Linked DNA regions of Homo sapiens: region 1 is linked to region 2. The links are contacts of gene promoters, found by promoter capture Hi-C in human tissues and cell types (Jung and others, 2019). All regions are on one chromosome and are shown on one strand. The core of a region is centred on a gene start or on the middle of the fragment in contact, and the rest is flanking DNA. Distances in the headings are between cores, read along the strand shown.

What was found. The method cuts DNA at HindIII sites, captures the fragments that hold promoters and counts their contacts. A contact is called where the count stands out against the background at its distance.
Region 1: a fragment that was not itself captured here is called in contact with the fragment with the promoter of SOX10 in region 2 in 1 of the 25 tissues and cell types used here (lymphoblastoid cells).

Annotation. Positions count from the first base shown.
Region 1 is chr22:36,715,379-36,718,078 of GRCh38, forward strand. The region is part of intron 1 of CACNG2-DT (CACNG2 divergent transcript); the gene reads left to right. Among named protein-coding and RNA genes, the nearest start is that of CACNG2-DT, 13 kb to the left of the region's middle. The HindIII fragment of the contact is 3,277 bases long and covers 1-2,700 here.
Region 2 is chr22:37,983,162-37,985,861 of GRCh38, forward strand. It overlaps SOX10 (SRY-box transcription factor 10), which reads right to left and starts at 1,394. Exons shown (of 4, transcript NM_006941.4): 1 at 1,178-1,394; 2 at 196-707. The coding sequence starts at 623. It also overlaps a transcript of POLR2F not described here. RefSeq lists enhancers at 1-500, 2,455-2,700. The HindIII fragment of the contact is 28,697 bases long and covers 1-2,700 here.

The DNA of each region.
Region 1 (2,700 bases), core at 91-2,590, 1.3 Mb before region 2:
GAGCTGGACCATTCTTTTACAGAATGGGATTATACGAGGCACCCTTTCTGTGTCTTGCTTTACTCATTCAAACACCACCACCCGTGGGAATCCCTCCAAGTCAGCCTCTGCAGCTCTAATTCATTCTTTTAATGGCACCATCATTTTTCAAAGTGAGGAACTACTATAATTTCTTCATCCAGTCTTCTATTGACAGACGTTCACTTTATTTCCAATTTTTTTTTCCCTCTGCTATAAGCAGTGCTGCCATAAACCTCCTTGTACATACATCCTTCTAACTGGAGATTTTATTTTGATGGAATAGATTCCCAGGAGGGGGATTGCTCAATTGAAGAGACTATGTATTTTTTATTTTAGTCAATGTTGCCAGATTGCTTTCCAAAAGTGCTGTAACACTTTGCGTTTTCTCCAACAATTCATGAGTGCTTTCCTACTGTTTCCCAGCAGCCATTCCAGCAACAGGTGTTAGCATTATTTTTAATTTTTGCCTGTCTAATAGGGGCAAAGTGAAATCTCAGTTAATGTCCTATACAATAGTGAGTGTGCATATTGTTGTATGTTTGTTGGCCATTTAGATTTGTACTATGTCTTGCCTATTTTTATCCTTTGCCTAACTCCAGTTCTCCTTGTTCATTGCTTATCAGTTTATAACAGCTCTTTGTATATATAGATATTAACATTTTGCTTGATATCTGTGTTGCAAATAGTTTTGTGCTTAAATCTTTTGTTTTTATATCAATGTTGTGAATATCTGTTGCCACAAAAGTAATTTTTATGTAGTAAAATATGTCTTTCTTTAAAAATATGACTCTCTTGGTGTTTTTAAAAATGCTCTGAGATCACCCTTGTCATTTCCTACATTTTCTCCCAAGATATTTATTATTTTAATGTTGGGGGCTGTTAACTCTTTAATCCATCTGGGGTTTATTTATGTGTGTGATTGTAAGAGGAGGTTTCAACTTTCTTACAAAAGCTAGCTGGTTGTGCTGGCATGATTAATAAAACAGTTGCTCCTTTTCCAGCATAATTGAAATACCATCTCTGCCACATATTAAATTCTCATGAATACTTTGATCTAGTTCTGAGCTGTCTGTTCTGTTCCACTGATCTGTGTATCGCTTCCTCACCAGCACCATTCAGATTTGATTATAGGGGCCTTAATATGTTCTGATCTCTAATAAGCCACGTTCTTCCCCCATATTCTTCTCTTTCGCAGGATCTGGTTGTTCCCGGCTCTGCATTCTTCTACATGAACTTTGAGCTGGTTTCATTCAATGGTGCCTTATACCACCCCTGCATCCCAGGGCCTGAGATGGGGCTAGACATTCAGCAGGGGGGCAGGAGATGTTTGTTGAATATAGTTGATGCTCTCATACCTCCCCAGTGCCTCCTAACCCCCACCCCCAGGACTATAAGATATTAAATAGTATTCAAACCAAAGTTAATATGAAAGTGTGTACATAGCAGACAAATCTAACTGAATGGAGGAAGCTTCAGAGGCCTTTAAAGCAAGGAGAGAAGTCGCTCTTGTATTCAACACCTATTTATTGAGCACCTACCATATGCTAGACCTTATTCTAGCGCCTGGGGATATAGCAGAGGCCAAGGGAGACAAAAGTTCAATTTCAAGGTGTGATAATGGTAACGTGTTAATTATTTTTTGGTGAGATAATGATATTGTTGTTATGTTTAAAATAAAGAGCGCTCAGCCAAGTGTGGTGGCTCACGCCTGTAATCTCAGCAGTTTGGGAGGCCATAGCAGGAGGATTGCCTGAGCCCAGGAGTTCAAGACCAGCCTGGGCAATACAATGAGACCCCATCTCTACAAAAATTACAAAAAAAAAAGATATTAGCTGGGCACGGTAGCGTGTACCTCTAATCCCTGCTACTTGTGAGGCTGAGGCAAGAGGATTTCTTGATCCCAGGAGTTTGAGGCTGCAGTGAGCTGTGATCATGCCACTGCACTCCAGCCTGGGCAGTAGAGTGAGACTCTGTCTCTAAAGAATAAATAAAATAAAATGAAGAGTCTTTACCTTTAGAGATACTTCCTGAAATATTTACTGGTAAAACTATGTAAAGTCTGTAATTTGTTTCTAAATAACCTAAAACTGGGGGGAAATGGATGAAAATATAGATGAAACACAATTGACCTTAAATTGGCAATTATGGAAACTCAGCAATGGGTAAATAGGGATTTATTATACAGGCAAGTATCCCTTAAACAAAAAGTGCTTGGGACCAGAAGTGTTTCAAATTCAGAGTTTTCGGATTTTGGAATATTTACATATCATAATGAGGTATCTTGGGGATGGGATCCATCTCAAAACATGAAATTCATTTATGTTTCATATATACCTTATAGACATAGCCCAAAGGTGTTGTTATGCAATATTTAAAATAATTTTGTGCATGAAACAAAGTTCATGTGTTATGAGGTCAGGTGTGGACTTTTCCACTTGTGGCGTCCTGTTGGTGCCCAAAAAGTTTTGGATTTTGGAACATTTTGGATTTCAGATTTTCAGATCAAGAATGCTCCACATCTACTGTTTTCTCTACTTTTGTCTGTATTGGAAATATTCCATGATAAAAAAAAGTTTTAGAAACGCATACAGAGCTTATTATGTTCCAGACATTGTTCTAATTGCCTTACGTCCATTCATTCATCAAATCTTCAAAACAGCCCTAGGAGGAGGGTATTAT
Region 2 (2,700 bases), core at 144-2,643:
GGCCGCTGGAGTTCCGAGTTCCAGGGTCCTTGTGATGGAAGGGCGGGCGCGGCCCCCACACCTGGTCTTCCAGCCCTATCCAAGGAGGACTGCCAGACAGTCCCGCTCTGAGGTGCAGGAGGCCGGGCCGCCTCGGCTACCCTGAATCCACCCGAAGCTAGAGGGCCCGAGCCCGGGGGGCGGTCGGGTGCTCACCTCCAGAGCTTGCCCAGCGTCTTGCTGAGCTCAGCGTTGTGCAGGTGCGGGTACTGGTCCGCGAGCTTCCTGCGCGCTGCCTGAGCCCACACCATGAAGGCGTTCATGGGCCGCTTGACGTGCGGCTTGCTTTTGCTGGCGCCGTTGACGCGCACGGGCATGGGCACCAGCGTCCAGTCGTAGCCGCTGAGCACCTGGCTGACGGCCTCGCGGATGCACACGGGGAACTTGTCATCGTCCGCCTCGCCGTCCTGCTGCTCCTTCTTGACCTTGCCCAGCTCGCCTGGCCCCGGGCTGGCTCGCAGGCCCGATCCGCCGCCGCCGCCGTCGGGCCCTAGCGAGGGCGCGCTCCCCGGGGACAGGCAGCGGGGCTCCTCCGAGCCCACGGGGCTCAGCTCCACCTCCGATAGGTCCTGCTCCTCCGCCATGTCGCCCCCGGCCGCCGCCGCCGCCGCCTCGGCCGCCTCCCCCGGGCCAGCCGCCGGGGTCCTCGCAAAGAGTCCAACGCCCACCTGGATGGAAGGAGGGCGCGATGGAGCGGCCGCGCGCGCAGCCCCGAGGGCGGCCCGAGACAGGACGTGGGCACAGCCCCGAGGTGGCGGCCCTTCCTGCTCCAGCTAAACCCATCTGGCCCCTGGGGCCCACGCACATGCCAGACTCTAGGTGGGTGCGTCCCGCCTCTGTGTCTTCCCACCACCTGGTCCCAACCGTCTCTTGGTGTGGGTGGCTTTTTTTTTAGCCTCCTTTTTTGGGTGGAGGTTTGTTGATGATAAGGAAGAAAAAAACGGAGCCTTTATTTTGCTCTAATCCCGGCCCCTGGAATTTCCCACCTTTTCTCTCACCTTTCCTTCTTCCCTCAGCCTGCCCCAACGGGGTTTAGAGGAGAGCCAGGTGGGGGGCAAGGGCGGGGTGTCGCCTCTCTCCACCTCACAGCAGGGTCCCAGGCCTGGGCGGGCCAGGGAGGAGCAGGCTGCGCACTCACCTCCTCGGACCTCTCCTCCAGTCTGGGGCTCGTCCTTAGGAAGTGGAAAACCGTGTCCCAAGGTGTGCGGTCCAGCTCGGGGCTGGGAGGTGACGCTGGTGGGCTGGGAGGGAGGGGCGGGGGGCCCTGAGCCTCAGGCCACGGCCTCGTTAGGACGGAGCCTGAATCCTTACCACCAACCACCCTGGCCGGACAGCCCGAGACTGACTGAGCGACTGAGCCTGAGCCGCTGCGGAGGGCTGGGGAAGGAAGGAGGGGGAGAGGGGGGAGGGGAGAGGAGGGAGGGAAGGGCAGAAGGTGGAGCCTCCAGGCTTTCCTTCATCCCCAACACTCAGGGCTCCTCCACCCGGAGCCCAGGCCCCCCCACCCAGCTCCCTGCCCTACTGCCCAGGCCCATCTTGCTGAGGCTTATCTTGGGCTTAGTCTGGGAGGTGGAGGGGAGGTTAGGCCGAGGAAGGAAGAGATGTAGGCTGGAGGGTCAGAACCTGTTGGATGGAAGAAAATTGGGCCCAACCAGGACTCCTAACGTCTGCCTCAGGTGGCAGGATGGGCACTTGGCAGGGGACTAGGGAGAGACGTGAAGGCGGTGAGGGTCCTGGGGGCCCGTGAGGGTGGCTGGCCCTAGCTGCTTCGTCTGCGAAATCCTGTTGAGTGCCTAGTGTGTGCCAGGCACTGATGCCCAGCTCCTCACCCTGCCTCCTACCTTTTCCCAGGCAGCCCTTTCTGCCCCATCCTGCACAGTAAGAGAGACTTCTCAGGGATCCCTCTGAGAAGTGCAGAGCCCCAGCTTGACCCCTGGTCCCTTCTCTGCAGACACCCAGCACACGCGCGTTCTGGTCTGGTTCAAGGTGGAAACACAAGACTAAAGCTGCCAGGAGGCCAAGGTGGGACAGGTTGGGGGCCCTCTCTCAGTAGGTCTTAGAGGCATTTTGGGTTGCTACCTACTGGGACCCAGCTCCTTCCACACTGGGCTCACCCTGTCTTGGGAGAGGGTAGGGGAGTCCTAGTCCTGATTGTCACGAAGTCCTCTACTCCCCCACCCCAACAAGGGGTGGGGACTTGCCCTGCCTCTTCCCTCCTCTGCCCACCTCTCCCTCCCTCCCCTTTTCTTTCCTGCCCATCCTCCGTTGACACCTTTTTCTCTCTCTTTCCTTGGCCTCTCCTCCAAAGGTCGCAGTGCTGTTCTCTTAACTGAGGGCAGCCCCGCCGGGGTGTTGAGGCCGAGGTGGGGTGTATGTGGGTTATGTAATGGAGCTGGGGTCGCATTGGCAACCATGTGACGTTCTGAGCTCCTCAACAGCAGGGCAAAGCCCCAAGACCACCCCAAGGGGTCCTGTCTGGAGTGGGCTGCAAAGGGTCTGGGGAGGCAAGGCCTCATGCTTGGGAAAGTCCAAAGGGGTGTAGGGGGTGGGAAATGGGACACAATGAGGTAGTCACACGAGGCAGAGGCATGTTGGGGGTGGGGGGAGCAGACACTGGAACACACACACACACACACACACACACACACACACATGCTCACA